2 separate regions of the Homo sapiens genome follow, and region 1 is linked to region 2. Evidence: promoter capture Hi-C in 16 types of primary human blood cells and fetal thymus (Javierre and others, 2016). All regions are on one chromosome and are shown on one strand. Each heading gives the region's core, a stretch centred on a gene start or on the middle of the fragment in contact. The rest is flanking DNA. Distances are from core to core; before and after follow the strand shown. Region 1 overlaps BCL6 (BCL6 transcription repressor). Region 2 holds the start of IL1RAP (interleukin 1 receptor accessory protein).

Region 1 (5,796 bases), core at 1,478-3,977, 2.8 Mb after region 2:
GCTTTAAAATATATACTTTTTTAAAAAAGACGAAAAGATATTTGTCTCTGGGGGAGGAGGAAATGGCGAACAAGTACCAGGAGATGGGCATTCCCTTACTCTAATGACTGCAGTTGAGTCTTCAGGCCAAAATAGAAACCTGTAGATGGCAACTCTCTCTCCACCTCCCCGCCCCGCCCGCCACCCCAAGCTTATAAATAGAAGTTTCCAGTATCCTATTTGGAAGACTTTCCAATACTAGAGGCCGAAGCATTGGCTAGTTTTAAGGGTTGTTGATAGTGACAGTAAGGCTAGATGCTGTTCATAAAAACTGGGCGACTTGAAGGAGACAGCCAGAAAAAGTGGGAATTCTCCAATTGCCCCTTTCTTCTTTTCAGTTTTGAAGGGTTTTATACCAATGCTTTCTTGAAAAGACTAACTTATTCTGGGTTTGGTGGATAGGGATGGGACTCTAAATGCTTAAGTTGTCGTTTGCTGAGCCCTTGAAGAGTTCCAGTTATTGGTTGAGTAAATGGTAGCCACGGCTAGATGTCAAAACCCTTCCTTCCCTCTATCCCCTACAGGGTAATGACACTCACAACCCACTTTGTTGTGAAAAACTTAAGAGATATAGAGGAGGCGGTGCAGCAGCGCCACCCCTCGGTGGGTGAAACTATTGGCAAAAGTCAATTTTTGAAAAATATTGGGAAGTGAACTTATGAAACATTTTTCCCCCAGAGATTTAAAAAAAATAGGGGAGATAAAACTAACGGATAAAAAGGACTTTGAAGTTTATCAAGTAGGGAAGAAAAATGTTGCTTTCCAACTAGGATGGTGTTATAATAGGCAACGTGGTTCTAAGGTTTTTTTTTTTGGTGGGGGGAGGGTGCCTGGTTGATTTTAAGTAGAAGAGTTCTCCAGGCGGAGGTAGCCCGGCCTTCCCCTTGGATTGACTTCTCAGGGCATCTTAATTCTGCTGCCTGTCTGATACCGAGATAGTGAGGGATGTTTTGGTGTAAAACACCATAGTGGCTGGAAATGCTGTAGTTTTGCCGGCGGTGGCAGGACGTATGTGTAGGGGGTGTGTTGAGGAGGTTTGTGGATGGCGTGGAGCAATGGTAGGCTGGTCTGTAGCCCTCTGTGAATCAACATCGAATGGCGCGTGCCGGTTTCCAGCACTGCGCAACAAGTGGGACCGCCGCTGCCGCCGCGAGCACAGCGAGGGTGCAGCGTGGTGGCAGAACTGGCTGGTTTCTCTTTGCCCCAGTGGAAACCAGGAACGGCCCCTCCCAACCCTCCCGATGTCCACTCCGAGACCCACAACTTCACCAAAAGACCATACCCGACTCCCCACTCCCCCGCTTTGCCAGGCGCAGTGAGCCTGAGTGGGATCCAGCACTCGGCCCCCAGCGCCCCTTTCCTCCGAGAAGATCAGGAGTTTATTCCCGACTTTCTTTGCTGGATGACCAGTGTTTGGCAAGAATCTCTGCCAATACTGTCGAGTGCCATTCTGCCTTTTGAAGACAAGTGCACCTTCTTTCCCTTCCCAGTACATAAAGCTTTTCGGAGGCTGGGGGAGAAATCAACTTATGATACATGAAACCAGCTCCAGATACCGCGTTGTGGTTGCTAGAGGCGGGAGCATCGGGAGGAACGGAATTACATACACTAAATTAAATGTTTTCTAGCTTTGCTTTTAGAGGCAATCACACCCCCAACCCTCGCCCCCACCAGACAGAAAATAAAGAGGGGCGGGTAGGGATCGGTGTGGAAGCTGCGGCCGCGCGGCGATTCTCGGACGGGCTGGCCTGCCACCTAGCGGTGGGCTGAGATCGAGTTCGCGGCCATGGGCGGTGGGCTCGCCGTTCCACCTCCCGGGCGGCGGTACCCTGACCAGATGCTAGGACTGACAGAAGGAGGGCACCCTCCAATGGGGATGGCATACAACCTCCAAAGTTTTGGCAAGAGGGATGAAAATCAGAAAGGCCTCGCTGCTTGCCCATCACTCAGCGATGAGCATCTATTTGCACTAAGAAAAACCACAAATAACCCGCTTCGAACACACCATCTTCCTGTCCCTGTGGCCCCTCTTAGGGGAAGTCGGTAGTGGAAGGATGCCACCTAGGAGCTCAGGGGCTTTGGGACGTACAACTCTGTTTTGCAGTTGAGGAAACAGGCCCGACGAGGAGGCTTGTTAGTGGTGAGTTAGTGACTTAACCAGGACCAGATTTTAAGCTTCTGAATTTCATGTCAGTGACTGAAAGCCAAAGGCGGGTTTATCTCAGCTCCTTAGAAGTATTTATGAGAAAGGAGCGGCTGCCAGAACCATGAGTTTAACCTCTTAGGTCACCTTTGTTGCCAGTGTTCATTGGAAACCGCTCCCCAGCAGTCTTGGAGGATTTTTTTTAAAGAAAATATGGCCTAAGATTTTCGGTAATGACACGAAAAGCCCAGATGGTGCTGAAGGGTGTGGGTCTCGGAGCTCGGGGGTTTGCGTGTTAAGAGGGGGGTTAAGGCCTGGACCAAAGACTTGCAGGGCGAGCCTCGATTCTGAAATCGCTCTCTTCCCCTTCCTAACATCCTCTGCATAGTAGCCTGGCGAGAAACCGGGTGTGTGTGTGTGAGGGGGTGGGGGTCATGTGGATAGGCCAGAATTTGTGCCACAACAGTTCCTCCGTAAAGTTTTCTTTCTCCGAGCTCGTGACTTAAGATGGCAAACGCGCGTCCGCATGCTGGCGGCCCCTAGCGGCAGCAGGCGCGCTCTGCAGGGGGAGACAGCGCCGTCGCCCCCGCCCGGGTCGGCGGGGATCGAGTTCGGCCCCTCCCACTGCGGGAGCCGTCGGAGGCCGCGTCGGAGAAACGCGCCTCTGTTCGGACTGGAAACGAATCTGGGAACGAGTTTGAAGCGCGGTCAAGTTTGACTCATCGCTTTCCAAGGACAGTTAGTGCCTTCCATCTTCATTAACGTGAATAAGGACCTTGGCTGACTTCTTTCCAGATCGGATTTTTAAAGGCATTGTTTGCTTGAGGAGATCATGCTTCTCCCCTCCCCCGCCAGCCTTTTTGCAAAGGCTGAGCCCAGTCCAGCCAGGACGGCCGAGGGATCTCTGCTCCGGGACGCGATTTGCTGGCATTGTCTTCGGGCCCTTCTGGAAGGCTGTCTCGCGCTGAGCGTATGGGGAACGTCCCTTCTGCAACTCCTCTTCAGATCTTGATGATAAAACACATCCCTCTGTTTTATTGCATTTCCTAGAAGCTTGCAGGCTTGCAAGAGCACTGTTGGCAGGAAACGTGATAGAAATGAAAGTCAGGACACAATGTCCCCGAACACCTCGGTTATCCAAAGCGGCTGTCGAGGCCATCGCGTTATCAAATTCGCTTTTATTTACTGTCGTCTCCTGCACCCTCCCGTTCCCCAGCCAAGAGGGCGAAGAGTGTTTTCCCCCAAGAATAAAAACAGCTCCGCGATTTGACCTCACCCCCTGCCGCCGGACCACGGTGGTGTCTGCAGCCGTGCAGCTAGTTGGCTGAAACACTGCTGAGACCGGGAGCCCCACGGCAGGGCCCCTGATGCGGGGTTCACTACGGCAGTTGCAGCCTTATTAAAATTCCTTGTCCTTGTCCCTAAACAGTGCTTTACACTTTCAGATTTCCCTTTGGATTTTTCAGCGGGTTATTGGAGTTATTAGATTACCAATAATCCAACAGCCTCTGTAGCCTCTCTGGCTGGAGAGGAGGGGGGAAGGGCGGAAGGCATTCTCCAAATCGGGAGGCTCTGGCCAAACTAGGTCAATGGGAAGGAGGGGAGGGGCGAGAAAGGGGTTGACGGTTTCAAACCTTGATGGAGGGCTCTCTCTAGCGTTAGGCAGCGGTAAAAACACCATTCGGTTTGAGCTCCCGGAACCACGGGACTCCTAATTTCCAATAAATGCACTTACTTCATTTTAACTTCCCAGATTCTCATCCCTACCCCTTATTAAATCCCAACCGTCTCTTTCACCTTTATCCCACCGGGCGAAGGGGTGAGAAAGCCTCAATGTAGGATTTTGAGGCCAAAGGCTCGTTCTTTGCAGACCGACTCTGACCCTTCCGCTTGCCGCAGAAGGGATGAGCGGCGCAGTGTGACGCCACTGGCTAGTTTTAGGACCAGACTGCGGCCTTTGTGGCTGAGTCTTTCGCTGTCCCCTAGCCCCCGAAAGCGCACCCCGGAGCCTGCTACCGAGACCAATTAGGACATGGCACCCGGGGGTTATAATTCCCGGGAGGGCCACAGGAAGGCGAGGCAACTTTGGAGAGTGCCAGTGCGCGCGCAGGGGTCGGGGCCCCGGCCTTTGCCGAGTCCAAGCTGTGTCTCTACGGTTTCGGGGAAATCGGATTCGGAAATCCTTACGGCTTGGCAGCTCCTGTTCTAAAGACTTTGGGCGGAAACCAAGTGGAGCTGGGTTCCCGTTCTTGCCAACGTAGGCGGAAGGGGCTTTCTGTTTAGTTTTTCTCCAACCTTGCCTGGGGCGCCTATGATGGAGACCCTCAGCCCCTAGGGACTCCATCTTTTGACCTTGAAGTCTCGCTCAAACATTCCCCTAAAAGAACGGGGGTGAGGGAGAATGGAAGGCAAAAAGAGGGAAAAAAGCAAATAAACTTCGGAATCGGACAACTTAAAGTCTCGATATGAGCCTCGGATTGTATTCGAACTCCTGGGTTCTAGACCCAGCTCTGCTACTAACTTGTCTGACCTTCCCCATTTATAAACTGTTGTGGGTGAGAGGTGGGACTAGGTGAACTCTGAGAGCCCTGCACTCGGCGCGGACGAGGGATTTAGGGGAAAGTGTGCTGTATTCCCCGCGAGCCTTCCCCAGCGGCCCCGCCTCCCTGGGTGAATCCCCGGCGGCCAGCGCAGCGCAGGCAGCGATCCTGGCGGCTGCCGGGGCCGGCAGCTTCCTGGAAAGTTACTTCTTGTTGGAGCCGGCAATAGGCAAAGTGTGTTCTGTGAAATCCGCAGAGCCGAGATTGACTACGTTCCGGGAATGAGAGGGCTGTGTCATTCCCCTCATTGCCTGCTGCATTGACGGCGTAACAGGAAAAAAAAAAAAAAAAAAAAAAAGGCATACACACAATGTTAGCTACCGAGGTGCACCAAAAGTTTTATTTGAATGTAACTAAATTAAGGGCCGCCACGGTCATACCACAAAGCCTCCGTCGCGCCTTGCGGGGGGCTTCGAGGTGGATCGCCCAGGGGCGGGCAGTCCCTGGAAGACAGGTACGGAGTGGTCGGGGTGGGGTAGCGAAGTCTGCCTAGGCTTGCCCCGGCGCGCAGGGCTGGTGTTTGTGCTCTTATGTGTGAGCGAGAAAATGGGGCTTTCTGGTGCCAGCCCAGGGGAGGAGGGAGGAAAAGGATGGGGTCTTTTGTATTGGCTTGCTCTCTGGCTCTTAACCTCGCCTCTCCCTCTTCTCTCATTTTCTCTCTCTCTCTCTCTCTCTCTCTCTCTCTCTCTCTCTCTCTCTCTCTGTCGTTTCTGCTGTCTTCTCTCTCTCTTTGCTTTTTTTTTTTTTTGGTTCCTGTTTTCTTCTTCAATGGAAAGCTCTTTTAAAGGATCTGTCTTCTCAAGGAGCCTAGTTGGCTATGCACAAGGAAAGCGCCAAAAGAGCTAAAGGGAGGAAGGGAAGAGAAAACATTTAACTCTCCCATGGTGGTTACTGACCCAGCGTGGGTGCGGGGAGATTGGGATGGGAAGTCCAGGTCTGGGGGCAGCCAGCAGTTGTCAGTTTCTCATTGACAGCCCTGCTCCTTGGAGATTGTTTTTGTGGGTAGTCTTGTGT
Region 2 (5,768 bases), core at 1,044-3,543:
CCTTATTTTGAACATTTTCCTTTTCCCCCACAAGGCCCCTGTCTCTCAGGCACACATTCAGTCATATCCCAGCCAGCTCACCACAATGCATGTACATGGAACAAGCTGATAGAAGCAGGTGATCCCATCCTTTACTAATGCTTGGTGCGGGAGGTACTTAAGTGGGCACCACTGGGCTCTTATCTTCCATCAAGATGTATCACACTCTGTTCTCAAGCACTTACCAATACTGCATACAAATGCTATGGCCTGTGAAGGAGGCAGCCAACTACAAATGCTGGACACTCAATTTAAGGACGCATGGCAAAGCCAGTAGATAGTAGTAAATTATTGCATGAAGTTCATCAGAATAAAATCAATTGTCATGAGAAGGGTTAAGGGTGTGGGAGGGAATCCATTTAACTTTAAAATACCAATAATACAGGAAGACTAGTGTGGGCATGTGAATGTCTGTGTGTTCGTGTTTAAATAAGGCAAGTTTGTGTCCAGAAAGGTTTGCATTTAGCAGCATCTCTGTACAATCCAAAAGAAATATATGAGAATTTTGTTTGTTTTCTGATACTAGATGAAAAATGTAAGGTTGCTCGACTGACCTAAGAGAGCAAGGATAGAAGGCTTAGAATAATCTGTAACACAGCTGCAACTTCCAACTTTGTCTTCTTGTCTTTCTGCCTCTCACCCATTTCAAGACCCTCTTTGTCAATAAAGGATGTCTCAGATCAGGGCAGTTCACAGGCCTGAGGTTTGACCTAAAAACTAGTAGGAAATTCATATCACCGAGAAACATCAATTTTACATTTCGAGCTAAGCATCCATGATCCACATCACATATGGACAACATTCAGAAAATTCTTATTATAAAAGAGTTGCTCAAATTCAAAAGAAGAAAGACACCACATTTACAGATTTTTTTAAAATGCCTCTGTAAGATGGTATGAAATCACCTTTCTGAAAACCCACTGTCTGCAAGGTTACTATGTAACAATATTTACAATAGTTGCCATTGGTTTTGAACCAACCAGATGCCAGGCCAGGCACTGTGCTAAACATGCTACTTGAATGATCCCATTTCATCCTTCCAACTACCCAAAGGGCTCATTGTGACCATTATAAATCTCCATTTTTTGGCTGGAAAAAAAAAAAAGGAAGAAAGAAAGAAAAGAAAAACCCAGTATCGGAAAGGTGAGATAACTTGCCCAAGTTCACACTGCTAATACATGGAAGAGCTGGAGTCAAAACTCAAGTCCTCTTTCTCATCCAGTAGCTAAACCAGGGATCTGTACAGCAGAGCAGCAGAATGCTTCGCGTGGCGCCCTGGTTCACAATTTCACAACCAGAAGGTGGAGGGAAGACAGGCTGTGGGCTAGCTCTTAAAGGAAACAGCCGAAGTTTGCTTTTATGTTTGTGATTTTCTCTTTAACTCAGCTTCCTTGCTCCCTCTCAGTATTTAGAAGAGGGAAGGGGCTCTATGGTTCCATGAAGTCAGCTCTTCCCAAGTGAGGGGCACCCTGTGCCCCACAGGGCCACTAGCTCCGCTTCCTCCGGGGCTGGGAAGAAACAGTACCATAGGAGGTCACTGGCGCCCGGGCCTCGCTCCTCTCTCCCCGCGCTCCTCCAGAAGCTGGTCCGACACCCTCTGAAGGGGCATCTTTCTGAGAAAGCAGGTCAGGGGAAGAGGGAGTGAGGCTGCAAGCAGCATTTTCCCAGGCTGTCACAGCTCTGCGCTGAGAGCGACGTGATACCGAGTGGGCGTGCTGGGACACACCGCTTCCTTCTGTCCTCGGCGCTTCCAGCAGCGGTCTGGAGAAACCAAGGAGGAGATGGGGGCGGGGGGTGGTAGCGGGGAGGGGGCGGTGAGGAGGAAAACAAGGGTAGACCCCTCAAAGGGCTGAGGATGGGGGCGGCAACGAGCAGACGTCCCACAACCGCGTTACTTAAATCCCTGCAAAGCAAAGATGGGTCTCTGAACGTTTGGGTTCGAATCCGGGCTCCAGTCCTAACTAGCAGTATGACCTATCCCAGCCGCTGCCTCGTTCTGTGCCTCAGTTTCCTCTTCTGTAAAGTAGGAGGGTTTAACGATAGGATCTCTAAGAATCCGTCTACCCTGAGATTCTGCGGCTTGGTGACTTCTGAGCCCTCACGGCGGCGCGAGACTCACCTTTCTTGGGAAGCTGAGAGGGCGCAGCAAAAGCAGCCGGGATGGGTGCAGTGTCGCCGGGCACTGCTTCCTTCCGCGCCTCTGGCCAAAGCGGACCCCGGAGACCTGGATCCCGGCAGTCTTCCCCAGTGAGCCTCTTACTTTCCGCCGCACTTTCTTTTCCCCCTTTGGGGCTCCTCCCCCGGAGCGGCGCGATTGGCCACGGCCTCACGGCTCAGGCTCCACCCGCCGCCTTGGCTCGCGATCCACCGGCGCTCTGGGCTTCCAGGAGCTGCGGCCGCGGGGCGGCGTCCTGGACGGTCCCGCCCGCCGCCAGGAGGCGCGGCGCCGGGCCCGCCTGCGGACGGATGCAAGGCTGCGCTCGGCCCCTTCGGCTCCCTGCCACCGCCTGTGCGGGCTTGAGCGCGCGGGGAAAGGAGAGGGTTAGTCCTGCAGCGCAGCTCGGCACGCTGCCAGGCGCTGTGGGAAGCTACGCCCCTCACTACACACCGAGGCGCACACATGCGCTCATTGCAAGATCGTGCTCTCGCAGTTGAGATCGGTGCCACCCTGCCCTTTCTTCCTGTCTCGACGTATTTAGCAATCATGCTGCAAGGCCTTGAATCAATTCAGACTGCACGATTTTCGCAACCACCCTGTGCCGGCACAGAGCGCGGCAGGATGTAGATGCGATCTCCGCAGTCCTGAGCTCTTGCTGTCTTGAACTGACATTCATATGAGCAAGCAACAGGACATGACAGCAAGACTAAATCTGTATTGTCCACTGGTAATATACCCATTGCCTAGCACAGTGCCTGGCACAAAGTAGGCACTCAATACATGTATGGGGAACGAATAAAAGAACTAATAGGTTACATAGAAGGAAATAATCTCAAAACAAATATTTGCCTTCATTCATTTCCATTTCCCCAAGTTTTTGCAAGAGCCTTCCTTCAGCTGCCCTCTGCCACTGTAGATGGTAGTCTGTAATATATCCCGGGAAGCGTTATAAAGGCTTTCATTAAGTCATCTCTCTTGTTCAGGCACCTTCTGCTGTGTTCCTACTGCTAGTGCCTCATGATTTTTCCTGACTGGCAAGGCCCTTCATGACCTGTCCCCATTTCTGAAACCCCCTAACCAAAGCCACCTACCAGACTGACGAGTCTTCGCACATCTTCTTGCTCATCACATCTTCTTTTCTCCTCCTCCTACCTAACTGAATCCTACTAATTTATTTTCAAGAATCAAGATTCAGAGAAAGCATTTAAGGAAAAGGAGAAAAAAGATGTGAAATAAGAAAAGGGCCCAGGTGAGTGGGAAGGAAATGAAACCAGCAGGTGCCCGTGCTGCTAAAGGTGCACAGCAGTACGAAACTCAGAGGCTGCCCCTGCCCTGGCGGAGCTTCAGTTCCTAAGGTGAAATATCAGTGTAATTGGAGCCATAGAAATGTTCATGATACTTTACTTCTTGACATCACTTATGAAAATTAATTGCTCAAAATTTTTATTTATCTCAGGATACCTGGGACCCAGCACCTGCTCACAACATTGTCACTGAACCAAAGAGAAAATAATCCAAAAGAATTTAAAATGTTACCTGTATGAAGCAACAATAAAACATTTTCTGATTTATTATTCATTCCTTAAATATATTCTGGGCACAGACTTTTATATATATATAGTACACTGAAGCATTTACACAGTGCTTACAAAATAAAAAGGTGCAATCATAAGGACTTTGTGTATATTAATTCAGGTAACCCTCAATACAACCTGGAGGGTGCTATTATTATCTCCAGTTCATAAAGGAGATAAAGGGAATTTAAATAACTTGACCAAGGCTACAGGCCTACAAGTGGAGAATACAAAATGAGACTAGAGACACTCGACGTTCATGCTCTCAGCCGCTACTCAGTCTCATGTACTACCTAGAAGCCAAACAGATGCTAGTAATTCAGAATTGAACCAGATGTATATTCCCGGACATTGAAGGGCTACTCATAGCTTAAGGAAGATAACATTAAGATGAATAATCATATAGACAAATATTCATAGTATATTGTAGTTTGAACACAATATAAATGGTTGGAAATGAAAATGATTAGTTAACCAACGCTGTCTACGCACAGAATAAAATATTTGCATCATAACTATCATATTATGGAAATATGTCTACAAAGAAAAAGGCTTACAAAATAAGGTTGAGTAAAAGTTGTGGAGAGATGAACACCAATTGAAAGGAATGTGAAAAAATGTTGATATGTTAGGATTACAGAAATAGAAACATCTCTTTTTCCTTTTACATTTAAGTGAAATAAACCAAGCACAGAAAGACAAATTTTGCAAATTCTCACTCACACGTGGGAGCTAAAAATTAAACAAAGGAACTGAGATATGAGAGTAGAATGATGGTTACCAGAGGCTGGGAAGAGTAGCAGAGGCAAGGGAGTTGTGGGGAAGGGAGGATGGTTAACGGTTGCAAAAATATAATTAGCTGGAATGTATAAGACCCAGCACTTGATAGCACAACAGAGTGACTACAGTCAACAATAATTAATTATGCATTTTAAAATAAGTAAGAGTGAAATTGGAATGTTCCTCAAAGAAGTGACAAATGGTCAAGGTGATGACACCCTGTTGTCATTACCCTGATGTGATTATTACACATTGTATGCATGTATCAAAACATCACATGTCACCCATACATATATACACCTATTATGTACCCGTAATAATTAAAAATGAAAAAATGTTATGCTAACAATTGAGAAAAATATTTTAAAGCTATACCCATTAAATATCCATCACATACTAAACATTTGATGAATAATAGTTGCCTAAATGAATAAATGAAGCTACAAATTCATTGATGTCAGTGACTAATACTGCTGGATGTATAGAAGATGCACAATAAAATATTTTGCAATTGATTGATGTATTTGGAAAGGTATTATTATTCTCTTCTTCTCCCAGCTTTTACCCTCCACCTTTTTTTTAGGTTATCTTTAATTATCTTGCTGTAGCTGTAAGACGCATCAGGAGTTTGCTAGTCTCTTGAACCCAATCCATTCAGACATTTATCTCTACCACTCCACAGTCAGCATCTGTAATGATCTTCACTTTGCCAAATGTGGTGATCAATTCTCTGTCTTCATTGTACATGTATCAGCAGCATTAGACACAGATAATCTGTTGCTCTTTCACACTCTCTCGTACTTGACTCTTTGTTTTTCATGTATTTCATCTGCTGTTCCTTATCAGATTCTTATTGAATCCTCTACCTCTTCATGATCTCTGAAGGTTCCAGTGTCCTAGAGCTCAATCCTTGAAGTGGTTATATTCTCTACCTAGGGGAACTCAGACAGACACATGGCCTTCTAAAATATCAATATGATAATAACTTGCAAATCTAAATCTAAAGCCCAAACCAGACTTTGTATACCATATTACCTCCTTCATATCTCCTTCTTGGATGTTTTAAATACATCTCAAACTTTACATGTTCAAATTCAAACTTTATTTCTGCCCCACACCAAACCAGAGCTTTGTAAGCAACACTGTCTTTTACCCAGTTGCTCAGGTCAAAAAGTTGGAGTTATCACTCTCTCTCATTGCCTGTACACATTATATCC

What was found. Contacts are between HindIII fragments. The CHiCAGO score rates a contact against its expected background, and 5 or more counts as called.
Region 1: a contact is called between a fragment that was not itself captured here and the fragment with the promoter of IL1RAP in region 2, in 2 of 17 cell types (non-activated CD4 T cells and naive CD4 T cells). The highest score is 7.8, in non-activated CD4 T cells.

What each region holds. Positions count from the first base shown.
Region 1 is chr3:187,737,037-187,742,832 of GRCh38, reverse strand. The region is part of intron 1 of BCL6 (BCL6 transcription repressor); the gene reads left to right. Among named protein-coding and RNA genes, the nearest start is that of BCL6-AS1, 3.7 kb to the left of the region's middle. RefSeq lists enhancers at 643-1,142, 1,143-1,644, 3,737-4,716 and a silencer at 3,060-3,235. The HindIII fragment of the contact is 1,021 bases long and covers 2,217-3,237 here.
Region 2 is chr3:190,510,610-190,516,377 of GRCh38, reverse strand. It overlaps IL1RAP (interleukin 1 receptor accessory protein), which reads right to left and starts at 2,293. Exons shown (of 12, transcript NM_002182.4): 1 at 2,159-2,293. RefSeq lists enhancers at 1,103-1,602, 1,603-2,104, 2,857-2,946 and a silencer at 2,357-2,706. The HindIII fragment of the contact is 8,413 bases long and covers 1-5,768 here.